2 separate regions of the Homo sapiens genome follow, and region 1 is linked to region 2. Evidence: promoter capture Hi-C in 16 types of primary human blood cells and fetal thymus (Javierre and others, 2016). All regions are on one chromosome and are shown on one strand. The core of a region is centred on a gene start or on the middle of the fragment in contact, and the rest is flanking DNA. Distances in the headings are between cores, read along the strand shown.

Region 1 (5,997 bases), core at 1,239-3,738, 300 kb before region 2:
AGTGTTATTATTAAGGCCTATAAGCTGAATCTGAAATTTACCTCTGTGCAAAAAAAGTCTTAAAAATCTTTTCAAAGTAAGAAACTGATTTAAATCAACTGAGATACTTAGATTGAATATGCATGTACTTAGAAATAACCAGCATATAACTTAGCGGTTGAAAAAAAAGATCATTTTGTGTTAGAAATGTAGACAGCTGACATATTTAACAACATAGTGACATACTTGAAGCACACACAAACTGACCACTATAATGAAGAGTAATAGCAGAATTCAAGGATGAAAAACATATTTAAGGAATTCAAGAAAACAATTGTGACTTTTTTCTATAATTTGATTTTGATTCTCATATGTAGAAAAGAATTGGAAACCTTTCTCTGACATCCAGTCTTTGGCTATCTAACCAATGGCACTAAGGATACACTTATTCTACTAATCACATTTATAGCATTAATCAAATCATTCTGTGATATTTTAGTTAGTAATAAAGACGTCTATATTGTATAATTGCCCAGATTGAAATCTACCTTGTATTAATATCCTTGTTAGTGGCTTCATTTTTAATAAAGTCTGTTAATTGCTAAAACTTCAAAGCTCTTAGAAGTTTCTATCTTGAGACTACCACTGGAAAATATTCCTACTTACTTATCAATTCACTCAGTTAATAAGGAAAATCATTTTCTGTCAAAATGCAGCTCTTAACAGATAATCCGGAATAAAATTTCTAGGAAGAAAAAAATTTCATAGAAGCACAAATTAAAAAATGATTTAAAAAACTTTAAATATGTAGAAATAAAATCCTTTGAAAATAGATAAAAGGATTTAGGAAAGGAGTCTCATAGTATTACATGTGTGTTTATCAGTTATTAATTCATTCATCTAAATTACTCAGAGAAAAAACAATGCATTTGACAGAAGTATAAGAAAAAAAGGAATTTTAATAATGAGTTTGATTGTTAAACATAATAATGCTTATCATCTTTCGTAAGCCATACCTTCTTTTAAAAATAAGAATAAATAGCATAGCTAAGTTTATGCTGCAGAATAAAAGTACAGGAACAATATTAAACCCCTGAGTTACAATGTAGAACTCTTGGCTACACACTGGAATCAACTGGGGAGCTTTAAAATTGCTGTTTTGAATTTGATTACTGGAGAGTAAGATTTAGCTGGTTTGGAATGAAGATTGGGTATTGGGATTTTTAACCCTCCCTAGGGTTTCTAATATGCATCCAAGGTTGAAATCTATGAGTGTACAAAAATCACTTAATGTTTTACAGATATATTCACAAATAATCAATACTGCAGGATCCAAGTAATTTATATACCTCTACTGTTTGCCCAGGAAATCATTTTCGCCAGCATTCTATAAATTCCTTCACATCCATATACACATATATACTACTTCTTCAATTAGGAAACACAATATTCCATTTTGCTCCCAGGACACTGAAGTTATCAAAAAAATATTCCTTTATATCTCCTGATGGCTTTTAAAGGCCACAAAAATATATGTTTAATTAAAATATTAGCAACTAGGACAGAACTGTGAACCCTCCTCAGACTTAATGCATTCCAGTTAGTGTAAGACAGAAGTTTCCTTGAGACCTCAGCACATCTGTTTTCGTGGCAAACACAAAACAGTTTGGGTGGCAACCCAGGCTCATTTATAGAGTATTTTATATAAACTTTTTATATAAAATAAAAAGTGCTTGTGAGGGGCAATGGGACTCCAAAGGCAAACGACTTTGTCTTGGGCGTTGGTCATTCCAGAAGCCCTTGCAGCAGCATGGTGCTGGGGTGGAGGGCATTTTAAGCTTATGCATGCCAAAAGATGTGTTAGCTTTTTGGAAGGTGTCATAGGCTTTGGAATCTGACCCATCATTTATTTATTATATTATATTGGCAATCTTGGCAAGTTAAACATTTTGATAATCCTCTTTCTTAACCCTTTTTTTTCATTATTAGAGATGAACGATGCATAATGATAATGTATGTTTATACAAACCCCTATAAAACTGATTAAATAGTCATGCAGTGTTATCAAGGGAACAGAACAAGGGAAAGTGTTTTCTGAAAAGTTAAATTGTTTTAAGATTTTGAAAAATAACAGAAAGCTAAAATAAAATTCAAAGACATACAATATCAAATGTAAATCAAACTGTCATAACTAAGCCTAAGGAGGTATGATTACCAAATGTAATGTGGTGTCCTAGATGGGACCTTGAAACATAAAAGAACATTAGGGGAAAATTAAGAAAATATGAATAAATTGTAGACTTTAGCTAATAATAATGTATTGATACTGGTTTGTTAATTGTAACAATTGTACCATATTAGTTCTGGGTGAAACTGGGTGTGGGATACTTGGGTATTCTATGGACTATCTTTGCAAATTATTCTGAAAAACGAAAAACATTCTAAAATCAAAAATTTATTTAAAAATGTAAGTCATATGCTTCTCCACCAATAAAAAGGACATATTTGCAAATTTTTTTTTTTTTTTGAGACAGAGTCTCTGTCACCCAGGCTGGAGTGCAGTGGTGCCATCTTGGCTCACCGCAGCCTCCACCTCCCAGGTTCAAGCAATTCTCCTGCCTCAATCTACCGAGTAGCTGGGACTACAGGCGTGCGCCACCATGCCCGGCTAATTTTTGTATCTTTAGTAGAGACGGGGTTTTGCCATGTTTCCCAGGCTACTCTCAAACTCGCGGCCTCAGGTGATCTGCCTGCCTCGGCCTCCCAAAGTGCTGGGATTACAGGAGTGAGCCACCGCGCCTGGCCAACAAAATGTTTCTTATTGTTAAAAATGTTTCTTATCTTCAAATTCAGACAGTAAGGGACTGTTATGTGAAATAAAATAATTGAAAATGATAATATCAAAAAATAATTAACAAGTGTTAGAAATGAGTCAACCAACCGATAACAAAGTTAATTCCTTTGTACATACACCCCATACTCTAATCTTCTGTGTATTAATGTTGTTACCAACATTTATTCTGTTTGGGCATTAGATGGCGCTCATGTTCATTTTACTGAGCAGGTTGGTTCTTTAACGTCAGCAGTAGGTCTCTCAACTGGAGAAGTGTCTTTAAGATTTGACCCAATATTACTTTTAGGGGTTAATTATGAAAACGAAATCAACCTTATAATAAGGATAAAAGCTTTGGATTGGATGGCAAAATTCAAACAATGAACAAAACTGTAATTAAGAAATTGCTAAGCAAAATTCATAAGTCCCAAGGAATCCAATGGTGGGCTTCAAGGCATCCTCCTCAGCCCCACTGAAGTTATGAGCACAGATATGCCTATGTTGCACCCATAGTACCTATCACCTTTTCAAAGAAGTTCACAGATTTCTCAAATTTTGAGAACCATTACCTTAAGTTTCTTTTCAGTGCCAAATCATTGCTGCATCATCAACACCCACTAGTGGATTTTGTATTGAGTAGGCAATCTTTAAATGTTTGTTGATTGACTGAATAAGTGAATTAATAAGCAGAAGAATAAATGAAAATGAAAGGAAATGCTATGCCAGGCACAAATGTTCCTCTTTCCCTCTTCTAAATACTTGCAGCATGATATTTTTGACACCAAAGGGACTGGATGCTCATTCATCTTTGTATTCCTCAAGATTTGCAAACAAAGAATGAGAAGCACCATTTAAACAAGAAATCTTGAATCAATGCTTTATTCCTAGTCCTACTTCTGCTTGTCAGATTATTCCAATAACTGATAAAGTAATCTCAGACTAGACTTTCTAAAATTGTATGTTGAGATCCTCCCAAATTTAGCTATTTTTAAAAAACTAGTTAATGGCTGCAAAAAGAAAAAAAAATCTTGGTAGTGGGGTCTAAAATCACTACTGAAAATTCAAGATTTTTCTTTTAGTGTTTCAGTACAGCTGTGATGTTTTTATTTATTTTGATAGTGCCCTTAGTACAAAATAAAAGAATAATAGAACCATGAACCAGTAAATCTATGGACTAGAATATGTCACTTGATTTAACTGGGACTCTTCTTTTAACCTGGGCTTTGAGAAGAAAGCTCTGAAGTTTGAAATAAAAGGCTTGGTAGTATTTATTTACGATTAGCCAGTCATCGATCCCATTCAAGCAAACAAAAGAAAAAAAAATAGGAAATTTTCTTTTTCAGAAAGAGCACCTGCTAAATGAAGAACTTATACAAAATAGTCATCAAAGACCAGTTCTGTGTGTGTGTGTGTGTGTGTGTGTGTGTGTGTGTTGCACACAATGTCAATTTTAAGGAATCCCTTTGCATATAGAACCAGAATGGTTAGCACTGGTTTGTTTTGTTTTGACCCCATTCCCCCAGACATGTGAAATTCAGAATAAGAAATATGTAGTTTTAACCAAAGCAATATCTTCAATAGCAAATGAATTTATCACTATTATTTATATGTTTATATATGTGTAATTTTATAGGACTATTAAAATAGTTATTTTGATATATTTTATTATGATACAAAGTCAACTGCATATCTTAAAACACAGCAAGCTGTTTGTCTCCCCGATCCTTTATGATTGTTTCCTCTGACTGTGCCCCAACACTTCTCTTGAGAAATTCTCATCACCACAGAGGCCCAGCTTAGCCATCATCCCTGCTCCATGTCTGCGTATAAGTTGTTTCCTCTGGTTTTCTCAACCCTTCATCTAGCTGGATAGTTTCTCACTTTTCAGACCACAGCTTAGAAGTCACTTACTTTGGGAAGCCTTTCATCAGGAACTTAGGAATCCCTGGTATGAACTGTATTCACGATTCTTCTCTCCTAACATTTCCTACACTTTATTTTGACTGTTTTGTTTTGTTTTCATTACCTGTCTCCTTTGCTTAGTACTGACTTCTGGGAAAACAAAGATATAACAACATTTTTCTCACTGTAATATTCCAAGCACCCACCAGAACCTTCCTGGTACACAGCAGTGACTCAATATTTAAGTAAAAAATGGCCAGGCTCAGTGGCTCACGCCTGTAATCCCATCACTTTGGGAGGCCAAGGAGGACAGATCACCTGAGGCTGAGTTCGAGACCAGCCTGGCCAACATGGCAAAGCCCTGTCTCTATTAAAAGTACAAAAATTAGCTGGGCATGGTGGCGCATGCCTGTAGTCCCAGCTACTTTGGAGGCTGAGGCAGGAGAATCACTTGAATCCAGGAGGCGGAGGAAGCAGTGAGTCAAGATCATGCTACTGCACTTCCAGCCTGGGCAACAAGAGCGAAACTCCATCTCAAAAAAAAAAAGTAAAAATATGAATTTAAACCACTTCTTAAAACATCTTTGAACATAAATTAATATGCTTTTTGAATTAGATATTTGAAATGTATTGTTTTCTTCAACTGTTTCACCTCGTAAAGGGAGTTTCTTAAAAAATGAATTTAAGTAAATAATAATTTGACAGAAACTTGCTTAAGGTATTCCTCCATTCCCGTTCAGTTTACTTTTTCTACCAAGTTAAAAACAACCATATGAATAAACAGAACAAGCTAACTTGGGTCAAGTGAGTGTATCCAAGCCATGGCACCTGCCTTGTGGAATTATCTAAGGGTGGCCTGAGCCCTTTCAGAGATGTACACCAGGAACCAGTAACACAGCAAAAGGCCAGGACAGCTACTGTGGGCCTCAGCCCTGCAAGCAGTCTAAGGGCACATGGCAGGCAGAATTGGCCAACACAAGAGTTTATTCATCAGACTCAATTTGTCAGACCCTTCTACTTCTCAAGTTAAAAGGAAGAAGAGTACTATAACCCAGTAAGGAACTTTTGTTGACCTGGGTTCATTTTTCATATTGTCACGTAGCTAGATCCACAAAAATTGGCTCCAATCCCTGAATCTGATCACCCTATCCTTCCCTCCGGCCCCATCTCACTCTCTCTGGTCACCTGCCCTTAAGTGCCTTTATCCTGTTTACACAGGAGGAAGCTGTGGCTCTCTTGCTCTTGAGTGCTTATTCCAACCACACTGGGTTATCAAGGCTTTT
Region 2 (6,513 bases), core at 2,130-4,629:
TAATCTCTCTCTTTTATTTGTGTCACTAAGTCTATTGATGATATGGTTAACCAAGGAGAATTTTTCTATACATGTGTTATGTTGAAAATGTTTACAGTATATTCACCTGTATGTTCTCAGCGTCCACCTGACAGACCCTTTTCATAATAGAAAACAACTATGGCATGGAAAGTATATAGAGCTGTTGCATTTATTTGATCATCACAATTATTTTTAAATTGCTTATTCTGAAAACCATTCTCTGGATACATTCTTTTCATCCAGCAAAAAGCCAGTCATTCAAATTTAACTTATAAAAGTAACCATCAGAGACTATTTCCTTCCTCTTATTCTAGCAGAAAATACTGCATTTCTCAGTTTCTTTTATCTACTCCTCATGTAAGTTGTTGAAAATAGTCTTAGCTTAAATTAGCATTATCAGAGGCATTGACATTACTTTTTAGAAATCTGTAAATTCTCTTAGGCAAAAAAAAAAAAAAAAAAAAAAAAAAAAAAAAAAAAACCTCCAAGGTTATATCAACAATTCTCCCCAAACTAATCATTATCTTTAGCAAAATCATTTCATTAAATAAGAATCTGTTGTACTAAATAACTATTTTATTGCACAAATGTTGCTTTAAGTACTGACACAAGCCTACAGACGCTCGGGGTCATTGGACTCCTGTTGTAAATAAATATTTTCAACAATTTGCAACATCAAATAGTTTATAAAATTACGCTGCCTGGGAAATATTGGCAGGGAAGAACAGCAAAGAGTAGCCAATCTATTCTGAGGATTGTTTTCTAGGTTAATGATGAAAGAAAAAGTGGCAGAAAGATATATCAAATACGAAAATACACAAGAATAGGAAGATGACTGTTTCTCAATATGTGTTCCTAAGAATTAAATTAGTTCAAAATAAATAATGTAATAAGTGATTTATACATCTTCAATCAGGTCTCGTAAAAGAAAAAAATCATTCTCCATTAATACAAGTGCCACAAGAATATTTGTAGACCTGTCTGGTACCCGTACTCAGTCCCCTCAGGGTTCCACTCCTTCTTAGGTCCCCCCTACCATCATTTGCAGTAGTAATCTCAAAAGAGAGACTCAACAGTAATCAAACAAGATCAGTGTTCAGATTCATTTCGGAAACTTTAAAAAAGTAAAAGTCCTAGGGGTGGGCAGGTGAAAGTGCTGTCAGGAGGAGCTAAAGCTCTTGTATCCAAGGTCAGGGTGAGCATAAAAGATGGGTGGAGGTTTGACGCTGAATCTTTTTCAAATTCTGTCTGCAACAGAGTGGATTTCTTTAAAACAGAGCTCTCCCAGACACGGTAAGATTGGATCAGAGGTCTGGCATTCCTGCAAGAGGTAAAAGCCAAGGGTAGCTGAAATGCCTGGGCAGGAATAAGGCAGTACTCCTCTGGAAGGATGCCTACAACCAGGGGGAGTTTGTTGTACACCTGAAACTGCTGATACAGACATCCCAAGATGACCACAAGTTTGGAGAGGCATTTATTCATTCCACAAATATTTAGGAAGGGCCTAATATAAAGAAGCCACCAAAAAATGAGAGAGAAAGCACTAGAGAATCAATTGAAGAGAGAGTAAAGGATGAGGTGCAGGTGCAAGAAGTACAGAGCGGTTTAAATAGCTAATGTGAGAGAGAAAGCACTAGAGAATCCATTGAGGAGAGAGTAAAGGATGAGGTACAGGTGCAAGAAGTACAGAGAGGTTTAAATAGCTAATGTGAGAGAGAAAGCACTAGAGAATCCATTGAGGAGAGAGTAAAGGATGAGGTACAGGTGCAAGAAGTACAGAGCGGTTTAAATAGCTAATGCATGCGAAGCTTAATACCTAGGTGATGAGTTAGTAGGTGCAGCAAACCACCATGGCACACGTTTGGTACCTATGTAACAAATCTGCACATCCTGCACATGTAACCCGGGACTTTAAATTAAATTTAATTTAAAAAAAAAGAAATCCAGACACCAGGTTTACCCAGAGAAGAATAAATGCCTAGTGGATAAGAAAGAAAAAGAAAAAAAGCTACGGGGTGAGGACAACTCGAGATTAGAGATTACTTGAACAGAAGGCAACTCAGAAAAGTATCTGGCAAAAAGTATCTGAAGATGTGAGAAAAAGGATGCAACATAGAATGCAGATAGCCTGTGGAATTCAAAGATGTCAGAGAAGGTCACGCTAAGACCAAGAGAGTGTGGGAAATAAGGAGAGGAAGGGTTTCCTGGAAGGGGTTGGGGCTCCTTTGGGATGCTGGAGAACAGGATGAAAGACAGGGAAGCTGAACTGCAGAACACAGTGCCTGGGAAAGTTTAGGGGAAAGAAAACAGGTGGGTGTGAAGCAGCACTGGGGCTGTCCAGGGGGAACAGTGGTGAAGTAGGGTTCAAGGCTAGAGGTGGGCAGACAGGCCCCCGAATCAGGATACCCCAAAGGAGTGGAATCTTATTCCTTCCCAGTGCTGTAGTCCCCTCTTCCGCCCTAGCCTAGGGGATCCTCTGTCGCCGGAGCCACTGGAACCCTAGGCCGTGCAGGGTAAGGCCGGGCCGCCCCCCAGCGGTCGGGCTCTGCGCTCGCGCCCCGGCTCGCCCAGCGCCAACTTTACAGATCCGCGTTCTCTCCCCCGAAGGCGGTCCCCCCTTCCGCCCCCCGCTCACCGAGGGCGCCGTCAGGCGGCTGATGCTCTCGCCCAGCGAGTCCAGGTTGACCCGCCTCCGGCGCTGCACCCTCCTGGCCCCGGCAGTGGCAGCGGCGGCGGCGGCAGAAGCAGCCGGGGTCGGGGCCGGGGCGGCGGCAGCGGCAGCTGCGGCCGGGCTGGGCTCCAGCGGCCCGGGCGGGCTCCGGCTGCCATTCCAGCAGAGCCTAGACAGGGGGCACTCCCCCTCCTCCTCCGGGCTGGTCTCCAGGTAGTCGGAGCCCAGGGAGCTGAAGGACTCGGACGAAATCTTCCTTCGAGACATGCTGCCGGCGGAGCTGCAGCGGCCGAGGCGGTGGCGGCGAGGACGCGAGCGGCGGCGGAGGCGGCGGTGGCGGGACCGGCAAGCGACAACGTTAAGCGCGTCGGGGCCGCGGGGCGCTGCGGTCGCGCCCGGCGGGGCGGGAGTCCCCGGGGCCGCGGAGCCCCCCGAGCCGGCTGCTCATGGCGGGAACTTGGGGCGCCGCCGCACCTTGGGGCCCGGGCTCGGCGGCGGCGCCGGGCTGGGCTGGGGGCCGCCGCCGCCTCTGCTGCTGCTCGCGCGGCGCCGCCTCAGCGCCCGCCTCGGCGCATCGCCGTGCGCCGCGCTCCCGCTCACGGGGAGGCTCCGAGAGTGTGTGACCGCGGTCGGCGGGGCGGGGAGGGCTGCGGCCCAAGCAGAAGGGGAGGCAGAGGCAGAGGCTTCTGCCGCCTGCGCGCCTATCTCGCCCCCTTTCCCTCTCTGCTCCCGCCTCTCTCCACTTGCTGCCCTGCCTCCCTCCTTCTCCCTTTATCCCCCCGCCCCCCCCCATGCTCTCCCTCCGCGGGAATCACGTGTCGCCATCATACTCATTGGGAGTCTCTGCCTCGCCTGTCGCCACGTTTCAGGAGCAACGAGGACACTTCGTTGCTGTCCTCTGCGCGCCCTCCCTGCTCCGAGGAGGTGCGCACAGGAGCTCGGGTCGGACTGAGGGCCCCAACCCCAAACGCCTTATCCTCGGCCCTCGGGAGCAGATGGGTCCCGGCGGCGCTGGTGGGGAGAAGGGCTCGGGGCTGGGGGGCGAGAGGCCTCCCCCTGGAGCCACCTTGGGGAAACCTGACAGTGTGAAGTGGGGGTTAGGGTCCATGTTGTCCTTTCTCCGAGTTTATTTAGGAAGTTCCGAGGCAAAAGGGAAAGGCCAAGCGTCCAGCCAGCCCACTCCAGAGGAGACGCTTTCAGGGGAAGGGAAGGACAGGGGCAACATTTTGGCGCCCATCCTGCTGGAGCAGCTCCTGGGGACTTGTGTTCCCCGCCTCGTGCGAGGCCGTGTGGGCGCGGAGCGAGCCCAGAAAGGGGCGGCAGTGAGGACAGCGTCTGCTCTGACAAGACAGCACTGTTGCTGAGCCTCAGCCGGGCGGGGTGCGCGGGGCTCCCGGCTCCGCTGGCTCCTCACTAGTGCTGGACAGCTCCGCTTGCCACCTATAGCCGCCTTTGCAGGCGTTGAGAACTGGAGAACAGTTCCTCCTCAAACGACCTAGCACCTGGCCCGGGGGAAACCGGGGAATGATCCCACGTCCCTCATCCTCAGGGCTCTTTGCGCCAAATATGCGATCTGTTTGCACCTGACTGCAAATGCTGCTCAGAAAGCTAAGGGGAGTAGGGATAAATGCTTCTCGAACTGACTCGCCACAGCGCGAGCATGTCTTGCCGCGAGTTTTCAGCTGTGCGGCTTCATTCCAAAGCTTATCTCTTTGCAAACCAGTCCTTCCAGCGCCTGACCCCACTGCCCCTTGCCTTAGCCCCAGAAAACTCTCATACTGGTTCTGAGGATAGAGTAAGAGATGGGAAGAAGGGGCAAATGACAGTATCCCGAAAGGGGTTCCAGGCTGTACTTCCCCCTGCAATGAAGTGGATGAGCACCCTCCCCAGCTCACCCGATCTGCGGAGAGAAAAGTTTAGGGGCTCTGGCTTTAGTTTCCCAGTGAAACCGAAGCCAAAGCGTTTTTTTAATTAAAGAACTGGTCCTTCCAGGTGAAGGCAGATGGGTTTTTGTGGACTGTGTTTATTTAAAAAGCAAAACAAAACCAAACCACAAAACCTGTGCTGTACCCCCACCACAATTTGCTTTTAACTTCAAATCTTCCCAAGTGTTTGTTAGGGCTTAAATATAAATGCTATTTGAGGTTTCATTTGGAAAAATCCACTCAAACTGGTTCAGAGACATACCTTTTTCCCCAGATCTTAAATGGGCTTTAAAGATAGAAAAGTGTGTACTATCACTCAGACACTCCCCCTTCAAATTATATATATATATATATATATATATATATGTGTGTGTATATATATGTATATGTATATACATATACATATGAGAAAGAATATATATAATATATATTCTTATATATATGTATTCTTTCTCATCCTGAGGAAGTTTCTTTTAAAATAATAATTGTTACAATTATTATTTAAACTGTTGTGCATCTACTATTGATTTCCCCATTACTTCAATTAATTCTATGTGCATTTGTGTCCATTGAAAATTAGACTCAAATTACACTTTTAATCATAAAAAATCATCAGTTTTGCTAAAAAAGTTTCACTAGCCCCTTTTTCTAAATTATAATGAAAATTACATTATTCTAACTTTGGGGTAATTGTTTAATATTTCTGCTACACAGTATCAATCAGCATAAAGGATTGGAGTTCCTAGTTCTCTTCTTTGGTACTGATTATATAATAGTCAAGTTCTTTCGAATTATAGGATTTTAGTTAGTATTAAATATACTAAATAGCATGTGTCCTTCACATTCTTTCAATAAACTGCTGCGCACACAAATAAATATTATGGTAACGGCAAATAAACTTCATATTGAACTTAGAATTGGAACTTTTTATTAACCATTCCAACTCTTGTCTCAAAGTCAAAATTATTGAGTGCAAGGCAATGAGTATCATTTGTTTCTAAAATTTGTAAGAGGCCCAAGAGCCTTCCTGTTTACACTGGAAGTTTATTGCCAGAAAGAACTCTGAACCTATGGGACATTTTTTCTTTGTGTGAACCATTTGAATCAAAGACTCTTTACAGAATCTAGCCAGATGAAGTCGTCTTACAATTTTCTCTATGAATTACACCCTGCCTTTGATCATTATTTTCCCATGGATTTTTAAACTATAAACAAATCAAGGCCTAGATATAGCCAGTACAACATCTGCTTTGCTTTCAAGGGTTTCCTTTGTATTTCTGTTCAGGAGCGGGGTTCAAAAGCTCTCAATATGAAGAGTGCTGTGTTTATACTAGAATTGACATTTTTAAAATGAAGCATAGCTATTCTCCATTAAAAAAAAAGAAGAAGAAGAAGGCTTACAGTTAGCAAAAGCAATCTAAATACTTTAGGAAGAGTAGTCTGCTGAGAATGAATAGTCTGTGCTCTGATTTTAGGAAAAGAAGCTTGCCCAAGCTCATACCCACAAATCCAGCCCTGCTGGATATATTGTATTTCAATAAAGTATTTAAAGGCCACTCTCCAACTGGAAAAGAAAAATGCAGAAATATTCTTGGTTTATTTGTGAAGTTGGCGTAGGCACCTGACAACTCAGATTGATCAAGCATTGGGAAAGACTTCCTAAAAAAACAGATTCTTCACTTTAGTCAAGACGATGACTATTTTACATTGAAACATAAAGTAACTATTGTTTGTGCGTGCCTTCCCTTCACATAAATCAATCCTATTTATAAACCCTTTCACTTATATAGCCTCATTTAACCTGATTTTCATCCTTCTCAGAGAAGTTGTTGAAGAAAAGTCACGTGTGTCAAATTCAAATCAAAACCACAATCAGTCCTCCTTCCCAAAATTCTT

The links. The method cuts DNA at HindIII sites, captures the fragments that hold promoters and counts their contacts. A CHiCAGO score of 5 or more calls a contact.
Region 1: a fragment that was not itself captured here is called in contact with the fragment with the promoter of GUCY1A2 in region 2 in 1 of 17 cell types (endothelial precursors); the score reaches 5.7 in endothelial precursors.

Annotation. Positions count from the first base shown.
Region 1 is chr11:106,718,575-106,724,571 of GRCh38, forward strand. The region is part of intron 6 of GUCY1A2 (guanylate cyclase 1 soluble subunit alpha 2); the gene reads right to left. Among named protein-coding and RNA genes, the nearest start is that of GUCY1A2, 300 kb to the right of the region's middle. The HindIII fragment of the contact is 1,347 bases long and covers 1,816-3,162 here.
Region 2 is chr11:107,015,097-107,021,609 of GRCh38, forward strand. GUCY1A2 (guanylate cyclase 1 soluble subunit alpha 2) reads right to left here and starts at 3,380. Exons shown (of 8, transcript NM_000855.3): 1 at 2,657-3,380. The coding sequence starts at 2,959. RefSeq lists a silencer at 2,774-2,903. The HindIII fragment of the contact is 2,566 bases long and covers 1,828-4,393 here.